Regions from separate parts of the Homo sapiens genome. Here all the other regions are linked to region 2. The links are contacts of gene promoters, found by promoter capture Hi-C in blood cells and fetal thymus (Javierre and others, 2016). All regions are on one chromosome and are shown on one strand. The core of a region is centred on a gene start or on the middle of the fragment in contact, and the rest is flanking DNA. Distances in the headings are between cores, read along the strand shown. Region 1 overlaps DHRS12 (dehydrogenase/reductase 12). Region 2 holds the start of NEK5 (NIMA related kinase 5). Region 3 holds the start of VPS36 (vacuolar protein sorting 36 homolog). Region 4 overlaps TMEM272 (transmembrane protein 272).

Region 1 (2,700 bases), core at 187-2,686, 330 kb before region 2:
CCCTTTTCAGCTCTCTACCCCTCCTAAACATGGTGGAATTAGATATAAGCCAAACAGATCCATATTATCATCATTTTTCATTTAAATATACTTTTTAAAGCCTGTGGCCCACACCACAGCAGGCTGGAATCCAGGCAAACCTCCTCCTGTCCGTGGCCTGAGATTAGTATTCTTGTTGCATCCTGCAGCAGCACCACCGAAAGTTATCAGCAGGCAGACAGCCAGCTTTCAATCTCGAGAACTGCAGCCCGCAGATCGCAGCGGCACTTGCAGACATTAGAGGAAGATTTAGAGACCCTCACACTTGCCGCCAGCACTAAGCCTCTGTAAGGCACCTGATGGCATGAGACTGGGGATTTCCATGAGAAAGGGAAAGGAACAGACACTTGGTGTGAAAATGTTATTTCAAAGTTGATGCAAAATATTCCATCCTAGAGAGGGGCATTCTTCTCTTTGACCAGGGTCCATGCCTGAGGGTGGGTACTGTCTGTCCCTCCCCAGCTTCCCTCCTACAGGCCCTCCAATTGTGGGGTCTCCTAGAGAAGAGGTAGGAATGGAATGAGGATGTTCTTTAGTGACAGTGAGCGAGCAGCCATGACTGAGGGTCCTTTTGGGGGTCAGGGTTTTCCATTCAGGGCAGCCTTATGGCTACACGATGGATCATGGGAATATGATCTATACAGCTGCACACGCCCTGCGACTGGAAAGGCCTCAAGCTTGGTTTAATGTCCTGCCTTTGTTGTGTAGAAATTCTAAATAACTTTTACACAAGGGTCTTGCATTTTCATTTTGCACCGAGCCCCACTAATTATGTAGCCAATCCTGGTTCCAGCTCTTTCAGAACAGAAAGACCACAAAATGTGAGGCAGCTCTGAAGGCTCGTGTCAGAAAGTAGCTCTCATCAAGACCCAAATGCTGCCGGTGTTTCTCTTTATTAGAGCACATCGGGTCAATGCATGGCTCCGTGGCACCCGGGTGACCCTTGCTGTGTGTTGCTGATGTGGGCTCCCTCTGAGGTGAGGAGACTGGAAGTATCACTGTCCAGTGTAATGGGCCTCTGCCTGCTGGCCTCTGCTGGTTTCACAGGCAGCTCAGGACCATGCGGTCAAGCCTCAGTGCCCCCACTTATCCCCTTGTCAAACCTAGCCATTCAAAAGCAGGGCCCAGCTCCCTGCTGGCCGAGGCTGCTTCCAAAGCAGAAGCACAAACACAGGCCCTCTTCAACCCAGGGAAAGCGGGTAGGAGTCCAGCCTCCTCACAGCTGACCATGGAGGCAAGGAAACCCAGCAGGAGGGGTGAGGAGCTGCTCACCTGGTTACCGCTCTCCCGGATGATCTCACCCCTGGCATCTTCTGCTGGGGCTTGATCTCGACAAACCAGGTGAACTGTGCCACCTGGTGGAATTCAATGAAACCATCTGTGAGTTACAGCGAGAGCTACAGAAACCAGCTCTTCCTAATGAAAAATGAAGACATATGGGCTCACAGTTGACACTCTTCTGTTAAGCCTAGATGGGTGGTTCCCAGAGTTAAGAGCAGCAAGGGCGATGGTGAGGGAGGTGCTGGAACCTTATTGCCTACCTGTGCTGACAGTGCGTCTGGAATAACATCCTGATTTTTTGAGGGCCTGAACACATCAAGGATAAGAAACATTGATCTGGGTCACATATGCCTCCCTAGCATCTAGCATAGTAGCTGACCCAGATGTGTTAAACCTGGCTGCACTTTAGACTCATGTAGGGAGCTTTTAAAGATCTAGGCGATAGGCCCAGGACTGGGTATGTTTTACAAGCTCCCCTGGTGATGTAATGTTCAGCCAAAGTAGACAGCCACTTGCCTAGCATGTAGTAGAGACTCAAGTATTGACTGAATGTTGAGTCCATCAGCAGCCCTCATATTATCCCAGCAAATGCCACACCATCATCAATCAAGGTCAATTTAAAGCAGAATGCCTTCGCCGTGGCAGCTAAGAACGAATCGTTATGGAGTCTGCTTTCTTTACTAAAAATCACCCACTTGATTAAATGGGGTGTTTCATGGGAGGCTACAGGCTAACCACAACACTAGCCCCTCTTCTCTCCTCCTCTCCGCACTTCAGAGTGCTTCCCAGCTGCTAAGATGCAATTAATCCTCTCCCTGACTTGGCAGATAATTAAATAAAGCTTCAAATGATATAATAGTCCCCTGAAAAATGCCTAACTTGGATTTAGAGAGAGGAAAAAAGAAAACATCTTCAGCATCTTAAAAAGTGATAAATTCACAACCTAGTTCCCCACCTTCTGCTGGAACATCCATTTTTCCTGAAGAGGCTCTGGAGAGATGCAGCAAACTTTTCTAGCCACTGCAGAGCCATTTGGTGACCCAGGATCGTTGAGCTCATGCAGGAAATTCTGGCATTTACCATGAGGAAGACTTCTGCTGACTGAAGACTTTACAGTGCACCTGAAGCACCTCTTTATAGTCAAGCTTAGGGGAGGGAAGCGGGAGGCTGCTCTAGCCCTGGAGGCTGGACCCCAGCAAGGAGGAAGTTTAGTTCAATGCACTCCTCTCTCCAGGTATTTTGGGGGCCTTGGTTCATAACTACCATCCACATCCAAATTGCAGTGGACTTTGAGGCTCCCCCTCCCCTTGTCTCTCACCCCAGGAGAGTCTCATTGAGAAGACATGAGTTAGAGACCAGGTGTTCATGTTTTTGTTTTTG
Region 2 (2,700 bases), core at 47-2,546:
TTCTAAAATGGAATAACAATACCTGTTTTGCAAGTTTGTTCTGAGAATGAAAGATACTATATCCGGTGTTTCGCACCTTTATAAAGCAGGAATGTCCTTAGGCTTGTGCACTTTTATAGTTCAGCCTTTCTTAGTGGGGACGTACTGCCCCCTAGGGGGAATTCTGGAAATATATGGGGGTGGGGAAGCTGTTTCCCCAAGATTCAGAGGCATGAGGTTTACAGGTGGTTGGGGCCTGAGATGGTAGGATTCTGCGATTCGAGAGACAGTCCCGCACAATAAAGGATTACCCCGCGGCCCTACAATCTTGGAGAGTCTTCCTATACATTCCTGTGCGTGGAAAAATCCGTTTGTGGCTAGAACCAAACTCTATTTTACATCGAAATGCTAAGTATTTTTGCAGTTTTAATGAACACTTCTTTTTTTTTTCGAGGAATGCAACTACATGTAAATCAAGGCTTGATTGCACTTCGGTTTGGAGGTTTACCAAGAATTGTTCACCATTTGGGAAAACCACGCGCTTCACTGGCCACGCTGCTCCTGGTCCCGGAGACCCAACAATCTGCATTTGCTGCCGTCACGTTCAGGCGACTCCCCAGGCGCGGCTACTGGCTACTTCTCTACATTTTCCAAGGGTAGTAGTGCCAAGCATTTTCAGATTGAAATATGTACTTTCTTACTTATTGCTTTCCTTCTATTTCCTCTTTATGCTACAGTTAGGGCATAATACAGTTTTGTTGTTGTTGTTAATGGGGTGAGCAGGGGGCTTGTTTTCGAATAATTTTACGTCAGGGTGGGAAGTCGGTACTGGGTTGCAGGGGGCTGGGAACCAGCTCCGCAGCCAGGAGAGGCTGCAGACACCGGAGGATCGGGTTCTGAGAGAGACGCATACGGACTTGGGGCCGGGGGTGACTCGCCGGGAACTGAGGGCCCGCGACCCTCCCGCCCAAGTGGCACCAAAGGGTGGAAGCCCCCAAATTAGGAAAATTCCTTCTCCCCTAGGGCCGCCCCTGGAAGCGGCCGCGGGTGAGTGGCAAGACGCTTACCCGTACCCGACCTCCGCGTGTGGAGCGTTGCCATAGAGACCGACGCGCCCTGGACGCTACACCCACACAGCCCAGGACGCTAGGCCTTTTCTGGGCCGCCCCCGCCGCCCCAGGCCGAAACTCCATCCCTTTCCCCCACCCTGCCGAGCTCCCGAAGCCCTGTGGCGGCTCCGGGCAAGAACTAAGGGCGGCCCCTGCAAGCGTACCTGCTCCGCCGGCTCCGCGGGGCCAACGAAGCGTCCCGGAAGGATCCGGGTTCCCGGGGCCGCTGCGCCTCCCTGCGGCCGGGGCGGAGCCGCGCAAGGAAACGCGGGCGGGGCGCGGGTCTGGAATGGCCTGGGGACCAGTCCACCTCGAGGCAGGGTCAGGCGCCAGGGAGTTTGGAGACCCGGCAGAGTCACCCCGCAACCGTCCCGTTGCCTTGGGTCGGGATTCCTTTGCTTTGCAGTCTACAGTAGCGCTCCCCGCTCTTGCTTAAGGTGCACCAGACGCTTCGCAAACGTTCTCTCTTTTCTTTACAACCCGTCAAGGCAGTAGTCTCCCAGTTTTACAAATGAGCTAAACTGATACAGGAAGAGTGTTTCTTGTACAAGGTCTCAAATATTGCCAAAAGGTGGACGTGAGACTGGAACGGCTTCCTACTCTTTGGGCCACAGCGGCGGCCTGCCAAGGGACTTTCTAACGAAACCGGCGCTGCCCAAGCGTCTGCACTCACGCCCAGTGCTCATCCCACCCTGCCCCATTCTGGATTTGCACATCAAGCTGCTGTCTAAAATGTTTAAGTAGTTGAAAAAAATGTAATTTTCAGCAATTGTAAATAGTGACGCAAGTTAAATATATCCAACTGAATCGAAACACTACAGTAATATGGTACCCTCCATCGTCCACCTCACACACACACACAAAAAAAACCCACAAAAAACTCTTAAAAATCCTAAGTTTACATCATTACTCTTCCTTCTTAAAATCATCTCTCCGCCGCCCCCTCCCCGTCCCTGCCACAAAAAATTTCTTCTTCTTGTAAGCACTCTAGTCAAGTTGGATTAGGGCTGAACTAAAGGCCTCATTTTGATCTAATTGCATCTTTAAAGTCTCTGTCTCCGAATATAGTCTCATTATTAGTTATTGGTGTTAGATTTCAGTGTGTGAATTGGGGGTGGCCGCGGCGGGGGTGAATGCAGCCCGTAGCAGGAGTCCAAAAGTTGTTTAGCAGTTGGAATATCCAATGTTAGTTTCTTTGGCAGTGAAATTCCCTCAAAATATTAGTAGGTATATGATCTACTTGTTTTTGTTTAATTACACGTGTCAGTGACCACACCCAAATTTCTTCCCTAGAATTCTTAGACATGCTTCATTAAATCATATCTTCATTCTACTTTCCTGATAGAATTTTACCCGTTATCTTTTTCATACTTGAAAGTCTTATTGATCATCCTATCATACTGCTGAAAGAAGTACAGAAATGGAAATTTATATTTCCTGCTCATAGAATTTTAGTTTTTCTGGATTAAATTGTTAAAATTACTAGTACTACACAATTGATCACAATAAAATGTATCACAATACTGATAATTATTAAATATAAAAAATAAAATTGTATTGAAAATTCATCTCTTTAAGACCTGGATGGGCTTCCCATGCACCGTTAGTTCCT
Region 3 (2,700 bases), core at 88-2,587, 320 kb after region 2:
CCACTGCACTCCAGCCTGGCGATAGAGCGAGACTCTGTCTCAAAATAAATAAATTAATTAATTAAATTAAGAAGTGCTAAGGCAGTAAGTGAAGTTAGGTCCAAGCAAATTATTTAAGGAAAAGACCTTTACTCACTAATACAGGCAACACAGCCCATAGAAAATGCCCTAAGAGAGTCAGAGGACCTGGGTCCAATGTCACCTGTGCCTCTAAATAGCTGTAAGCACTTACCAGGAAAAGCTGAGTTGAGGAACTTATATCAAAGTACAGCGGAAAGTGTCGTTAATAAAACGGCAAGGGAAGAGAGGTAGCAAATTAAAACTTCTGGAAACCAAAAATGCTTGTGGGTAAATGAGTTTTAAAATTTTTCTAATTCCAGTTTATCCATTTCAATCCAGGACAAGATATTTCATAGTTTCAGTAAAGTATCTACAAAATATTTACTTACACTTCCTATTTCTCCTCTCGATTTGCAAACGCACCTTCTAAGATTTATGCTTGCACTACAAGGCACGGTCTACTATTAATATAACACTTTACAAAACACGCTCAGAACGCCTTTCTAAAGCAATTAGAAAACAAAACAAAAACCCAATAGCCTTTGGCAAGGGCATTCCAATGAAGCACTGATACCTCTTTAGGAAATCCTTTCGAAGCAATCCCTCACCCCTCTGCCCAGATATGCTAATCCCTCCGACTGCATAAGGTCCAAGCTAAAGCTTCCGCTGGGGCACGGACTGTACGGCCACCGCGCCCTCCTCACAGAAAGGCGAAACGGGGCTGTCCGGTGCCGACGCCGAGGTTGGTGTCGTCAGGGGGTCTGGAACCACGCCAAGGAAGTCGACTGCCGGATCGCCGCCCGGCGCCCGCAGACGGCGAGCGCTCCTTCTCCCGGGCACTGCAGCTGTGCGCTCCCGGAAGCATTCCGGGCGGAGGGAAGCGGCCGCGATCCGCGCCTGCTGGGAACCGTGCCAAAGTTGGGACCCGCGCTGGGGAGGCAGCCGAGCGCCCCACGCCACGTGCTACCGACCGGCGGGGAGCGCAAGAGCGCTGCACCCCGCACAGAGGCCTGCCGGGCCGCCGAGGGCCGTGAGCTAAGCCGGGGACCGGGCCGCGCCGACCCGGGCCGCGCTGAGCCGGGCCGCGCGCCCACCGGGGGTCCCTTCCGCCAGCCCGTTGGGAAGGTTGGCAGACGCCCTACCTTCTCCTCGCCATCGTAGATTCGCACCCCGCGCTGCTGGATCACCAGGGTCTCGTTGATCTCCAGGAGGCCGCTGGTCCAAACGAAGCGGTCCATGGCCGCTGCCACCCAGCCCCGGCCCTCCGAGGCCGCGAGCAGCGCGCCAGGCAGCCTGCGGCGCCCCCTAGCGTCGGACGGGACGGAAGCGAGTCGGGGCGGGTGAGGGACGGAGGGAGCGGCCTGGCAGCGAGCGGGCGCGGCTGCGAGGTGCGCCCGGGGACGTGGAGACGTGCGTGGAGCGCCCCCTGGCGGTCCATTAGCCGCCGGCCTTTCAGAACCCTTGATCAGCAGGCGGTCCACCCCATTCTAAATTCAGAGCTTACAGGGACGCGAGGGAGCCCCGACCACAGCTTGGACTTGCTTATTGTGCATTATGCCTGCATGTTTGTGGCAGTTTTCTTGTCAGTGCCCAGAATGTTGCTACATTCGCTAATGATTGTAAATAATCATAACCCCTCTCTTTCAAATGAATATTTATGGCACGCATTGTTTCTGTACAGCTGCAGTCAGTACTACCTGTGCTGCTCTTTTTTTCCCTTTAAGATTATATTGTAACACAAAGGATAAATGCTTGAGGTAACGGATACCTCATTTACCCTGATGTGATTATTATACAGTGTATGCCTGTATCAAAATATCCCATATACCCCAGAAATATATACACCTATGTACCCACACAAATTAATTTTTTTTTAACTGGGGGAAACAGATTTTATTTAACCGGGCTTGATGCGCGCGCCTGTATTCCCAGCTGCTTCCGAAGCTGAGGCGGGAGGATTGCTTGAACCCAGGAGTTTGACACCAGTGGGCGACATAGAAAGACCCTTTCCCCCTCCACCCCAACTCCCCCACGCCACTCCACTCCCCCACCCCCAGGCTCAGAAAAAAAAGATTATTTTTATTTAGGCATTTTCAATATTAATACAGACCTCATGCGTGAATTTACATTTCAATATGTAGTTCCTCTATAATTTAGCTGTTTGTTGGTCTGCGCAAAGCCATCCATGGCCGCTGCTCTCACCCACCAGGCGGCCTCGTGCCCCTAGCCATTTCATTTTTGTATTTTGCTTTATAAATGGAACACCTGGCCGGGCGCGGTGGCTCACGTTTGTAATCCCAGCACTTTGGGAGGACAAGGCGGGCGGATCACAAGTCAGGAGTTCGAGACCAGCCTGGCTAACATAGAGAAACCCTGTCTCTACTAAAAATACAAAAAATTAGCCCGGCGTGGTGGCGGGTGCCTGTAATCCCAGCTACTCGGGAAGCTGAGGCAAGAGAATCGCTTGAACCCTGGAGGTAGAGGTTGCAGTGAGCCGAGATCGCACCATTGCACTCCAGTCTGAGCGACAGAACGAGACTCTGCTTCAAAAATAATAATAATAAATAATAAATAAATAAATAAATGGAGCAGCTTATAGATGTCCTTCTACAATTGATACATATTTTTCTCTTTAGGATT
Region 4 (2,806 bases), core at 189-2,688, 300 kb before region 2:
ACATGGGCACGATTACAAGACTTTCCTAACAGACTTGTCAAAATCATCAAATGTCATAATCTGCATAATCTGTGTAGGGCACTAAACGCAGGGTCTGGCACATAATAAACACCGATAAATGCTGGCCATTATCATTACTATTATTATTTTCCATTCCTGATGGAAGGAGACCCAGGCTTCCCCTTTATTTCAGCCCCCACTTCGGAATCAAATGAAGAATCGAGAAAACAACAGGTGAGGTATACACTGTGGTTCTCATGGTGTCTGAGCAGAGATGAGACTGTTCTACACCTTAACTCCCAAGTGGATGCGGCCTTACTCCCTGGCCCTGTTCTCAGGCTGTGCCCTGGCTTCATCCAGTGAGTCCGCTTCTCTGGATCACCACTCTAGGTCTAAAGAGGCTCACTCTTGCTTGAGATCTAATGAGGCTCACTCTTGCTCGAGGTCTAATGAGGCTCACTCTTGCTCGAGGTCGAATGAGGCTCACTCTTGCTTAAAGTCTAATGAGGCTCACTCTTGCTCGAAGTCTAATGAGGCTCACTCTTGCTCGCTGCACCTCAGAGCCATGACTCTCAGGGTCTCAATGGCCGCTCTAGATCTCACAAACCAGGATCAGTACAAATGGCGCCTGGAAATCTGCATTTAAAAGCAACTTCCACCCTGGCATGGTTGCTCACACCTGTATTTCCGGCATTTTGGAAGGCTGAAGCAGGTGGATCTCTTGAGCCCAGAAGTTTGAAACCCACCTGGGCAACATGGCAAAACCCCGTCTCTACAAAAAACACAAAAATTAGCCAGGCGTGGTGGTGCACCTGTGGTCCCAGCTACTGGGGAGGCTGGCTGAGATGGAAGGATCGCTTGAACCCAGGAGTTCAAGTCTGTAGTGAACCATAATCCCGCCTCTGCACTCCAGCCTGGGCAACAGTGCAAGACCTCATCTAAATAAAATAAAATAAAAGCAACTCTCAGGTGATCGTAGCCTGTTTCTGTAAGCTGGCTAGAGAATCTTCAGGGGCTTCCTACAGCTGTCTGCTCAGCATGGTGTGAGGTGCTGGGGTTGGGCTAGGTTGTAGGATCCACTGGGATGGAAATCATCAGCAGTTACCAGCACGAGGCCTTCTTTACCACTTGGTCCTAATAAGGACACCCAAGCCACAGTCAGGAATTGGGGAGCCCCACTCTCGCCTGATCCCCCTGCCTCCTGGGGCATCTGGTTACCCACTCCTCAGTCTTTGGAGCTCTCTGGAACAGAGGCTGAGCTTCCTGGTGATGCCGCTGTTGCGATTGCAGCGGCTTGACAGCAGTGACCACCACTAGTTAATACTGTCCTGCCTTCTGGTCTATTGAGCACCAATTCCAATGCAACTCAGAGTGCCACATTCTGGCTTCTGATGCCATGAGAGTCTCCATCTAGAAAGTCAGTTTGAAAGAGCTGGGTGAAAATAAACTCAGCTTGAGGGTCCAAAGGAGAAAATAATTCAAAATTAGAGCAATAGTGGGAGGATATTAGAATCAAAACGTTGGAGTCAAGTCATTCTTTATGCTAAGAACACAGATAGGCTGATTCCTGACTTACTGAAGGTTGGGAAAAGACAGACTATTGGGAAGGGTGCCCTCCTCAGGGTGGCTTTTGGGTTGCTGGCTCTGGATCCTCACTCCCCTCTTGCAGTGCATTTCAGGGTGGGCTGCTCTCACGACTGCTGATTGCTGCTGCCCGTGATTGTCAGAGGGAGCAGCATGGTAGCAGGTGTTAAAGATACGCTGCCATCCGGTTATCAGTCAAAATAGGTAGCTGGGAGAATTCAATGCATTTTTAAATGGGTAATCTTGATAGGAAAAGTGGGTAGCTTTTGGTCTGTTCTCAAGGATCTCCGGAGTCTGTTTCCTATGAATAGCAAGTATTAATATATCCCCAGATCTTTTGCTTAGTTTAGTGCAGAAACTGAGACTGGGACCCAGCAGTTTTTCTCTGCAACACCATCCTTCGGGGCTCCACTGAGCTATCAAATACCCAGAAGGCAACTGGCAAAGAGTGCAGGAAGAGAAACTCAAACTAAACTCCTCTTTCCAAACTGCCCTTTCCACCTCCCTGTATCTGTAATGGTGCCCAAACCCCAGTCACCCAAACCACTTCTGCCCTCTCCTGGTATGTTCAGTCATTCTGCCTCTGCCTCGTTTCCACCCACCCCTCTTCTCCAGCCCTGCACAAGCACCCTGCATTGCCACAGCCACCCACTAATCCCCAGAGGTCACAGCCAATAGCAATTTGCATGAGGGGGTATTTTTATTAGCACTTAATCCCCTTTGAATATAGATGAACTTCTTTATAGATATTCAGCTATTCATTCTTGCATTCGACCAAGGTTTGGGTAGATGCAAAGTGAGCATGAGAAGCCTCGGCAATGCGGACTTCACCACCTCTTAAGGGAGATGAGATGTGCACCCAAGGGACAGTACAAATCAGTGTGTGGAAGGGACCAGCAGGGGCAGCGCACAATGCAGTGAGGAAGCCTGGAGGAGGAAAGAGTCCCCAGGAAATCAAGGAAGGCCTCAAGGAGGAGGTGATATTGGTACTGGGTGTTGATGGATGGGTAGGATTTTTGACGGGCTGAGTTGTGGGGAGATGGCTTTTCTGTCAAAGGAAAAAAGCCCAGAGGAAACAAAAGATTTGAGAGACAGAGACACTCAGAGTGGTTTGGGGGAGTGGCAAATCATGAAATGGAGCTGAGCGTCCATCATCCATCATAACAGAGAAAAGGAGATCAGATGGAAACTAGATAGTCAGAAGAGAGGGCATTTCTGTTTT

What was found. Contacts are between HindIII fragments. The CHiCAGO score rates a contact against its expected background, and 5 or more counts as called.
Region 1: a contact is called between a fragment that was not itself captured here and the fragment with the promoter of NEK5 in region 2, in 1 of 17 cell types (naive CD4 T cells). The highest score is 6.5, in naive CD4 T cells.
Region 3: the fragment with the promoter of VPS36 here is called in contact with the fragment with the promoter of NEK5 in region 2 in 7 of 17 cell types (erythroblasts, M0 macrophages, M2 macrophages and 4 more); the score reaches 8.4 in erythroblasts.
Region 4: a fragment that was not itself captured here is called in contact with the fragment with the promoter of NEK5 in region 2 in 9 of 17 cell types (erythroblasts, naive CD4 T cells, naive CD8 T cells and 6 more); the score reaches 7.8 in erythroblasts.

The regions. Positions count from the first base shown.
Region 1 is chr13:51,796,515-51,799,214 of GRCh38, forward strand. The region is part of intron 2 of DHRS12 (dehydrogenase/reductase 12); the gene reads right to left. Among named protein-coding and RNA genes, the nearest start is that of DHRS12, 6.3 kb to the right of the region's middle. RefSeq lists enhancers at 539-1,067, 1,138-1,217. The HindIII fragment of the contact is 1,445 bases long and covers 715-2,159 here.
Region 2 is chr13:52,127,777-52,130,476 of GRCh38, forward strand. NEK5 (NIMA related kinase 5) reads right to left here and starts at 1,297. Exons shown (of 24, transcript NM_001365552.1): 1 at 1,253-1,297. LOC101929657 (a long non-coding RNA gene) reads left to right here and starts at 1,119. Exons shown (of 2, transcript NR_110306.1): 1 at 1,119-2,700. The HindIII fragment of the contact is 11,669 bases long and covers 1-2,700 here.
Region 3 is chr13:52,449,297-52,451,996 of GRCh38, forward strand. It overlaps VPS36 (vacuolar protein sorting 36 homolog), which reads right to left and starts at 1,338. Exons shown (of 14, transcript NM_016075.4): 1 at 1,203-1,338. The coding sequence starts at 1,298. RefSeq lists an enhancer at 924-1,504 and silencers at 1,025-1,484, 1,525-1,584. The HindIII fragment of the contact is 2,912 bases long and covers 719-2,700 here.
Region 4 is chr13:51,830,483-51,833,288 of GRCh38, forward strand. The region is part of intron 2 of TMEM272 (transmembrane protein 272); the gene reads right to left. Among named protein-coding and RNA genes, the nearest start is that of TMEM272, 13 kb to the right of the region's middle. The HindIII fragment of the contact is 4,301 bases long and covers 1-2,806 here.